Regions from separate parts of the Homo sapiens genome. Here region 2 is linked to region 1. The links are contacts of gene promoters, found by promoter capture Hi-C in blood cells and fetal thymus (Javierre and others, 2016). All regions are on one chromosome and are shown on one strand. The core of a region is centred on a gene start or on the middle of the fragment in contact, and the rest is flanking DNA. Distances in the headings are between cores, read along the strand shown. Region 1 holds the start of SEC11A (SEC11 homolog A, signal peptidase complex subunit). Region 2 has its middle 68 kb from the start of CHASERR.

Region 1 (5,027 bases), core at 322-2,821:
AGCCACTGCAGACGGCACATCTTTAACCTTTTGAGCAACTGCAGCTATTTCCCAAAGTGGCTGCACCATTTTACATTCCCACCAGCAGTATATGAGGGTTCCAATTTCTTCACATCTTCCCCTAAACTTATTATTATTTGTCTTTTTTATTACAGCCATCCTCCAATAAATTCAAGTTTTTATTTTGGAATGACTTTCCATTTAAAGAATTTCGAGGATACTACAAAGAGTTCCAGTATATCCTTCATTCATCTTTCCCTAATGGGAGAGAAGGATTATTTTGAAAAAAAAAAAAAAAAAAAAAAAAGAGAGAGAAATGATACCAAGTAATCCAGCTTTAGTCTTTGTTGACTGAAGTGCGTATTAGGAGCTTTGGCCAGTCAAAGCAAAAGGTAGCGAAAAGATAGTCACTTCAAGGTGTCCAAGTTAAGAAAACCAGGAGGTAGAATTCAAGGAGACCATGTCAAATCCTGTCAGCAAAGTCAAGGTCAGAAAGGAAGCCACTTCCTAACGACCCACACCACTGGTGGTCTCATCACGCTGTTGCACCATTTGGATGTTTTCTAATTCTCCCGGGCTGTTTTCTCTCCAATTGGACTGTAAACTCCTGGCAGGCTCAGGCAGTGCTCGGAAGGTCTCTCACACGGTCCAACCTTACGCGAAAAGCACTTATTGAAAGCACCTCGATGGCCGGGCGCGGTGGCTCACGACTGTAATCCCAGCACTTTGGGACGCCAAGGCGGGCGGATCACCTGAGCTCAAGAGTTCGAGACCAGCCTGGCCAACATAGTGAAACCCTGTCTCTACTAAAAATACAAAAATTAGCCAGGTTTGGTGGCGCGCGCCTGTAGTCCCAGCTACTTGGGAGCCTGAGGCAGGAGAATCGCCTGAACCCGCGAGGCGGAGGTTGCAGTGAGCTGAGATTGCGCCACTGCACTCCAGCCTGGGCGACACAGTGAGAAAGAAAGGAAAGAGAGAAAGAGAAAGAAAAAGAGAAAGAGACAGACAGACAGAAAGTAAGCAAGCAAGCAAGCAAGCACCTCAACAGAGACAGAGACGTAAAGAAAGAGAGACAGAGACAGAAAGAAAGAAAGCACCTCCTCAGCTTCCCATAGCGCAGGAGACTTGCTCGACCAGAGAACCTACGGTCAGACGACACATCCACTGCCACACCCATACCCAAGCCGGGACGCGGAACCGCTTCTACCCGCCCACACCGGAGAGGTTGCTCGCGATTGGCCGGGCGGGCACAGAGGCCCGCCTTCCGAAGGTGGCAGAGCAGCCTCCCCAACTAAGCCTGGGTCGCCGCCTCGGTGAAGGGCCGCGGGGCCGAGCGCGGGAAGTGGCGTCCAGTCGGTTTTTGGCAGGCGAGAGCCAGAGCGTGAGAACCCTCCCACGGCGAGGCCAAGCCCTGAGACTGGACTAGCAAGGTCGTGAGTCTCTCTGTCAGCTCTCCGCAGCGAAGGGGCGCGGGGGGCGGGGACCGTGCCCGACCGTGCCAGCTCCCGCCCCGGAAGCGGAAGTGCAAGCACTGCGGGGTCCTGTCCAGTGTGAGCCCGACCCGAGCTCCAGTAGTTCCGCCCGCTGGTCATCGCGCCCTTTCCCCTGCCGGTGTCCTGCTCGCCGTCCCCGCCATGCTGTCTCTAGACTTTTTGGACGATGTGCGGCGGATGAACAAGCGGCAGGTGAGCTTGTCCGTCCTCTTTTTCTCCTGGCTCTTCTTGTCCCTTCGAGGCTGCTGCTGCGGGGCCCGGCGGACCCCAGGGTTCTGGTGTGAGGGTCTGAGCTGGTCTGATACCCGGGTCATTCGCTTTCTTTGGAGACTGTGGCCAGAGGCCGCCTTGTCCGCCTCATTATTTTTAACCCCGAACTGATTCAGGGCCTACCGGGGGCGGGGCGGGAAGCGGTGTCTTCACGTTCCATTCCTCCCACTGAGGCAGGGGAGCAAATGGAAACCGTACGCGCTTGAAGTGGGAGTTGGGGTTGCTTATTGTTTTAGTCATTTTAAGGCGGCGGACTCTTGATTTCTCCAGTCGGAGCGACTCCAGGTGGTTTCGGGAGAGACGAGGTTTAGCCGGTTTCTGGGGCGCTCAGGAAGGCGATTGGAGGCCCCACAAAAACCGTTTTGCTGCTTTCAGCTCCTTGCAACCCTTTAGTAGAGCTGAACCGTAGCGGGCTGCACCGACTTTGACTTGGACCACTCTGGGCTCCGAGTTGGAACAGTTACACTACTTGCCCTTGCGTCCGCTTAGCACTAAGGCGGCAGCCCTCGGAATCTATGGTTTTACAGTCCAATATCAGTGCCACGGGGATCTGGAAATGTAGGTCTCCTGATTTTGTCCTTACACTTTACTTTGATCTTCTAGATCGTATGCCAAATAGTACTGAGAATATTGTTGTAATTATTTAGTCCTTAGAAAAGGTTGTTCTGTTTTATCTTTTGCGCCTAGTGTGTCTGTAGAGCCTAGTTTTGCTGCATCGGACTTTTTTTTTGTTTTAAACAGTATTTTACTGTTATGATTATCCTGATGTCACCATTAAGGATTTTTTTTCCTTGGACTTGCATTTTTTGTACTTATAACTGCCACTTAGGGAAGTAGATACACAACCTTTCCTTACTCCCCTTCAGGCCTTAGCTAGCTCAGTGTCAATTCTGTCAGTCAGAATTGAGCATTCTATAAAAATTGCGCAAACGTTACTTTATGTCTTTATGACAACACTTCAAATTTTTACTTGTATAGTGTTGTCTTTTTTTAATCCATATTTGGATTTCTAGATGCCACAGATATTTCTCTGAGGAAAGTATTTATTTTGAGTCTGATATTTATTGTACTCTATGCTAGGTACAATGAGAGAAATGCAAAGATAGTTAAGAAAGACTCGGCCTTCAAGGAGCCTAAATGTGTAGAAAAGGACTAAGGCAAAACAATAACTTTTTTGAGCTCTTGCCATGTGTGAAGCACTTTATACACCTGTAAGGTAGGTAACGTTGTTCTTATTAAACATGAAGAAAATGAGACTTTGTGAGAAGCAATACAGTATAGAAGTTAAGAATATGGACTCTAAAGCTAGATTTCAGAGGTTTGAAGTAGCTCTGCTACTTACTGGCTGTGTGACTTTGAGCAGATTACTTAACCTGTCTGTGCCTATGTTTACTTTTATTGTTGTAAAAAGATATGCAACATAAAATATTCCATTTCAACCGTTTTTACGTGTATACTTCACTGACATTAGTTGCATTCACTATGTTGTGCAAACGTAGGGTCGCTATGAAGATTAAATGAGTTAATTCATATAAAGCCCTCAGAAGAGTGTCTGGCACATGGTGAGTATTGGCTGTACTGTGGTCGATGTCATTGTTAGAGAGCTTTAGTGATTTGCTTAAGACAGAAGGTAGACTGGGTGCGGTGGCTCACGCCTGTAATCCCAGCACTTTGGGAGGCTGAGGCAGGCGGATCACAATGTCAAGAGATTGAGACCATCCTGGCCAACATGGTGAAACCCCCTCTCTACTAAAAATACAGATACTAGCTGGGCCTGTTGGCGCACGCCTGTAGTTCCAGCTACTCAGGAGGCTGAGGCAGGGGAATCGCCTGGGAGGTGGAGATTGCAGTGAGCTGAGATCGTGCCACCGCACTCCAGCCTGGTGACAGAGTGAGACTCCGTCTCAAAAAAAAAAAAAAAAAAAAAAGAAGGTATATGGCAGGATGTGGATTTGATCTCAGGTCTTACTTTAAAGCCTGAACACTTGGATAAAGAAGGATATGACCTGTTCTAGCAGTGGTAGGAAAATTTTGAGAGGTTCCAGTCAGGGCATTACGAACAGCTTCAAGGAGAAACTAGCATTTAAGTTGGATCTTGAAAGACCTTAATAGCTTCATCTTTAACCTGGGTTGGTTAGCATTCCAATAATCAAAAGGGAAGGAATTCACTCAGCACTTGCAAACCTGCTAGATAGGCTCTAAAGCATAGAGATATATAAGGTACTCTTCCTGCTCTAATAAAATGGACAGGAAGAAAGAACAGAAACATGAAGATACAATGAATAGGCTACTCTGCCCTGTGTTTCTCTAATATGGAGTGATTGTGGTTCAGAATTCATTGCATCTAGGACATTCAGGGTTAGTGGAAGTTTAAATGGTAAAATTATCCTCCCTGGCCTCCCAGAGGTTGTTAGGAATGGATAGGAGGGATTGGATAACATGGGGTGAGGGAGAGTTATGAAATGAGATCTTTATCTGTACATAATATCTAGGAGGAAGAATTGACAATACATGTAGATACTGAGAATCAGACGAAAGAGGGAAACTAGAATTTTGTTTTATTCCTCTAAAAGTTGCTATTATTTGCATAACTTCTCTGCTTATACCTAATTACATATTACATATATGTTAAATGTCTGATTGCTTTGAGTTTTTGTTTTTTTTTTCTTATCAGATCCACAGAGGAATACTTTAGTAAATGAACTCCATCCATTTAAAGTGTACCATTTGATAAGTGTTTTTTTTTTTTTTTTGAGACGGAGTCTCACTCTGTTGCCCAGGCTGGAGTGCAGTAGTGCAATCTTGACTCACTGCAAGCTCCACCTCCCAGGTTCACGCCATTCTCCTGCCTCAGCCTCCCAAGTAGCTGGGACTACAGGCACCCGCCACCACACCCGGCTAATTTTTTGTATTTTTAGTAGAGACAGGGTTTCACCATGGTCTTGATCTCCTGACCTTGTGATCCGCCTGCCTCGGCCTTCCAAAATGCTAGGATTACAGGCGTGAGCCACTGCTCCCGGCCGGCCGATAAGTTTTTATACTTACGTATACTGATCACAATCAAGATATAGAACGTATATATCACCTACAAGACCCGTTCTGTCCCACCTCTAATGTGCTTTTTGTCAGTATAGAGGGGTATGCATTTTATATAAATGGAATCATAGAGTATGTATTCTTTGGAGTTTTAATCAGTTTTTAGGCTGGACGCAGTGGCTCATGCCTGTAATCCAGCACTTTGGGAGGCCGAGCAGGTGGATTGCC
Region 2 (5,074 bases), core at 1,422-3,921, 8.1 Mb before region 1:
ATGAGCCACCGCGCCTGGCCATCCATCCATTAACTCTTAAAAAATGTAAAGAGATTAAAACTGACTTAAAAAAATGTGTATGTGCACGTGTATCACTTTGCAATGGATCCTAGGAACATAAAAATGAATACGGTATCAATCTTACCTTCTAGATAGTCTAGGTTTCCCAGGGAAACCTTCCACACATGGGATAAGTGCTGTAATATAACAAGTAAACACCGTGAAAAGTCTGGGAGTATGAAAGAAGGAGAAACTCCTGGAAGGAACAGAGAGGGCCAGTCAGGGCTTCCCAAAGGAAGAGATGCTAGATTTTTTTTTTAATTAAAAAATTTAATATTTATGCAAATCGTTAGACATTTTCCCAACAATACAAAACAGTATACAGTGAAAAGAAAATCTTTCCTCACCCAGACCCTTGACTGCCCATCAGAGGCATCCTTCCCATTAATATAAATATCACTCTGGCCAGGCGTGGTGGCTCACGCCTGTAATCCTAGCACTATGGGAGGCCGAGGCTGCCAGATCACGAGGTCAGGAGATCGAGACCATCCTAGCTAACATGGTGAAACCCCATCTCTACTAAAAGTACAAAAAAATTAGCTGGGCATGGCGGTGGGTGCCTGTAGTCCCAGCTACTCAGGAGGCTGAGCAGGAGAATGGCGTGAACCTGGGAGGCGGAGCTTGCAGTGAGCAAAGATCACGCCACTGCACTCCAGCCTGGGAGACAGAGCGAGACTCTGTCCCAAAATTAAATAAATAAATAAATAAAATGAAAATAAATATCACTCCTTTCTCTTTTTTTTACACAAATAGATGCATTTTGTATTCAGTTTTTCATACCTCCTTTTTTTTTTCTTTGAGATGGAGTTTCGCTCTTGTTGCCCAGGCTGGAGTGCAATGGCACAGTGTCGGCTCACTGCAACCTCTGCCTCCCGGGTTCAAGCGATTGTCTTGCCTCAGCCTCCTGAGTAGCTGGGATTACAGGCATGTGCCACCATGCCCGGCTAATTTTGTATTTTTAGTAGTGACAGGTTTCTCCATGTTGGTCAGGGTGGTTTCGAGCTCCTGACCTCAGGTGATCCTCCCGCCTTGGCCTCCCAAACTGCTGGGATTACAGGCATGAGCCCCCACACTCGGCCTATTTTTTCCCATTTAACAATGTATTTTAGAAATCAGTGCATATAGGCTGGGCGCAGTGGCTCACGCCTGTAATCCTAGCACTTTGGGAGGTCGAGGTGGGCGGATCACCTGAGGTCAGGAGTTCAAGACCAGCCTGGCCAACATGGCGAAACCCCGTCTCTACTTAAAATACAAAAATTAGCCGGGCATGGTGGAGACTAATTAGGAGGCAATTGGCCAAAGGAGAAGGAGGCATTGACAGCGGGCAGAAAGTGGATTAAGGAAGCAGGATTGATAATTACCACCGTCTATTGAGAATTTATTATTTGTGCCAGGCATTTTACTAAGTACTACATACTGTCCAGCATTTATCCAATTCTTGGAACAAATAAAGAAATATTTGCAATTTACAAGTAGGAAACTGAAGCTCAGAAATATTAACTGCTCAATGTTACACAGTTTGGAAAGGACAGAACTGGACTCCAACTCTGCCTCCCTCTGACTCCCAAGTCCCAGTTCTTTTTTTTTTTTTTTTTTTTTGAGACGGAGTCTCACTCTGTCGCCCAGGCTGGAGTGCAGAGGCGTGATCTCAGCTCACTGCAACTTCCACCTCCCGGATTCAAGCGATTCTCCTGCTTCAGTCTCCTGAGTAGGTGGGACTACAGGCATGTGCCACCACTCCTGGCTAATTCTGTATAGTTTTAGTATAGATGGGGTTTCACCATGTTAGCCAGGATGGTCTCGATCTCCTGGCCTCGTGATCCGCCCGCCTCAACCTCCCAAAGTGCTGGGATTACAGGCTTGACCCTCTGCGCCCGGCCCAAGTCCCAGTTCTCAAACACAGTTCCACAGGGCCTTGGAAGAACCAGGAGCAAGGCTTTAGGGCTATTTGATATGGGGGAGGAAGAGAAATTTGGGGGAGACTAGTAGTGATACATAGGCCTAGAGCCCTAACCCTGTTGGAATGTGCCCATGAGAAAACAGGGTTAAAAATATAGGGGGAGGCCAGGGTTGGTGGCTCACACCTGTAATCCCAGCACTTTGGGAGGCCGAGGTGGGCAGATCACTTGAGGTCAGGAGTTTGAGACCAGCCTGACCAACATGGTGAAACCCTGTCTCTACCAAAAAATAGAAAAATTAGCCAGGCGTGGTGGCACGCACCTGTAGTCCTAGTTACTATGGAGGCTGAGGCAGGAGAATTGCTTGAACCCTGGGAAGTGGAGGCTGTAGTGATCTGAGATTGTACACTCCAGCCTGGGCGAAAGAGGGAGACTCCGTCTCAAAAAAAAAAAAGGGTGTGGTCAGAACTGATCGCCCAAGGAAAGAGCATTGCATTCTCTGGGATTGTTTTTAAGATGATCATGTACTCGCTTCTAATTTTTTCCCATTATTCATGCCTTTGTTTTATTCCTCTTTACTATTCTGTGTTCTCTAAATGATTTGGAGAGAGCAAAGGAATGGCTGTGGCAAGTACAGTATAATTTTGGAATAACAGACTATTGAAGACCATGCGTGGTGGCTCACACCTGTAATCCCAGCACTTTGGGAGGCCAAGGCGGGTGGATCACGAGGTCAGGAGTTTGAGACCAGCCTGGCCAAGATGGTGAAACCCTAGCTCTACTAAAAATACAAAAATTATCCGGGCGCGGTGGTGGGCACCTGTAATCCCAGCTACTTGGGAGGCTGAGACAGGAGAATCGCTTGAATCTGGGAGGCTGAGGTTGCAGTGAGCCGTGATAGTGCCACTGCCCTCTAGCCTGGGCAACAGAACAAGACTCCGTCTCAAAAAAAAAAAAGACTATTGAACTTGCCAATTTAGCAGCAAAGACTCTGGGGTCTACAGTCTAGGATATGAGACAACCTATAGATTGCCTCTTTCATTTCTGGAAGGACTGAGGAAAGAGGCAAATTTACAAGACGTTTTCCTTTCATTGCTAGGCAGTAACTGTACCTCAGTAAAAGGATATTTTCAAAGGCCCTTGAGATTAAAAAGAACTTTTTTTCTTCTTCTCCTCCCTCTCTTCTTCCTCAGTCATATCAGTAGCAGATATGAAATTTCAGCTTTAAGGAGACAGGCTTCTAAGAGCTATAGCTTCCACAAGCTGTTCAAAGTCAAGTGTTCCTTAAAACAATTGAAATGTAAAATATTCATCATTATCTGCTTTAGGTATCAGCTATGAAATACGAATGATAAAACAAACAAAAATATCTAGAGCTGCTTTGAAAGGATCACCATGAATCTCTGGTAACAGATTTTAATCTCAGATGCACAGTGCTGGTTAGGTAAAAAAAAAATTCTCACGTTTATTGTGGTTCTGTAGAATCAGACTACTTAGTAACTTTGCAAAGGTTTACTTGGAGACTTTGAATTGACCTCAAATACCGTAGTCGAAGAGATCAACCTCTGCCATAGGGTACTGTCACTAAAAGGAAGACTATTACAGAATAATGACTGCCATCTATGGTAGTTTTTATTTTTTTTGAGATGGAGTTTCACTCTTGTTGCCCACACTGGAGTACAATGGCACGATCTCAGCTTACTGCAACCTCCGCCTCCAGGGTTCAAGCGATTCTCCTGCCTCAGCCTCCCGAGTAGCTGGGATTACAGGTGCCCGCCACCACGCCCAGCTAATTTTTGTATTTTCAGTAGAGATGGGGTTTTGCCATCTTGGCCAGGCTGGTCTCGAACTCCTGACCTCCAGTGATCTACCCTGCCCGGCCTCCTAAAGTGCTAGGATTACAGGCGTGAGCCACTGTGCCTGGCCTATGATAGTTCTTACAGCCCCATATCCTTTTAATATTAACAAAGTTTTCTTCATTCTACTGGAATGTATTTTATTGCAAGTATAGTAAGTAGAAGGATTTCATTTAAAGAGAAACTAGGGTTAAAAATATAGGAGGTGGCCAGGCGTGGTGGCTCGCGCTTGTAATCCCAGCACTTTGGGAGGCTGAGGTGTGCAGATCCCTTGAGATCAGTCGGGAGTTTGAGACCAGCCTGACCAACATGGTGAAACCCCGTTGCTACCAAAAAATACAAAAAAATTAGCCTGACGTGGGCCGGGCGCGGTGGCTCACGCCTGTAATCCCAGCACTTCGGGAGGCTGAGGCGGGTGGATCATGAGATCAGGAGTTCGAGATCAGCCTGACCAACATGGTGAAACCCCGTCTCCACTAAAATTACGAAAATTAGCCGGGTATGGTGGCACACATCTGTAATTCCAGCTACTCGGGAGGCTGAGGCAGGAGAATCACTTGAACCCTGGAGGCAGAGGTTGCAGTGAGCCGAGACAGAGCCATTGCACTCCAGCCTGGGCAATAAGATTGAGACGCCATGTCAGAAAACAAACAAACAAACAAACAAAAAAGGCCGGGCACTGTGGCTCAAACCTGTAATCATAGCACTTTGGCAAGCTGAGGCAGGTGGATCACCTGAGGTCAGGAGTTCGGGAGCAGCCTGGCCAACGTGGAAAAACCATGTCTCTACTAAAAATACAAGCCAGACATGTTGGCACGCGCCTGTAATCCAGGTACTCCGGGTGCCGAGGCAGGAGAATCGCTTGAACCCAGAGGGGTGGAGGTGGCAATAAGCCGAGACAGCGCCATTGTACTCCAGCCTGGGCAACAAGAGTGAAACTCCATCTCAAAAACAAACAACCAAACAAACAACAAAACCAAACGTTCATTTACACTTAAATAATTTTAGGGCAAAGTTTATATCCTTGCTGCACATCAGAAAGAAAATTTTAGCAATTAGTTTCCTTTGCCTCACATCTCCACATAGAAATGAACTAGTTAAAAAGAAAAACAGGTTTCCGTGTATTAAGCAGGTTGACGGTGAAGGAGTCCTTTTAAATATTTAACTTGAAGTTAATGTCCATGTCCGGTATTTATTGGACACACATGCATATAAAAAAATACATAGAGAATATACAATTTACAATTTTCATTAAAAAAC

The links. Contacts are between HindIII fragments. The CHiCAGO score rates a contact against its expected background, and 5 or more counts as called.
Region 2: a fragment that was not itself captured here is called in contact with the fragment with the promoter of SEC11A in region 1 in 1 of 17 cell types (neutrophils); the score reaches 6.3 in neutrophils.

What each region holds. Positions count from the first base shown.
Region 1 is chr15:84,712,683-84,717,709 of GRCh38, reverse strand. It overlaps SEC11A (SEC11 homolog A, signal peptidase complex subunit), which reads left to right and starts at 1,571. Exons shown (of 6, transcript NM_014300.4): 1 at 1,571-1,685. The coding sequence starts at 1,635. RefSeq lists enhancers at 223-786, 908-1,017, 1,038-1,157, 787-1,352, 1,828-1,897 and 1 more. The HindIII fragment of the contact is 22,021 bases long and covers 1-5,027 here.
Region 2 is chr15:92,812,034-92,817,107 of GRCh38, reverse strand. No RefSeq gene overlaps it. Among named protein-coding and RNA genes, the nearest start is that of CHASERR, 68 kb to the left of the region's middle. The HindIII fragment of the contact is 6,670 bases long and covers 1-5,074 here.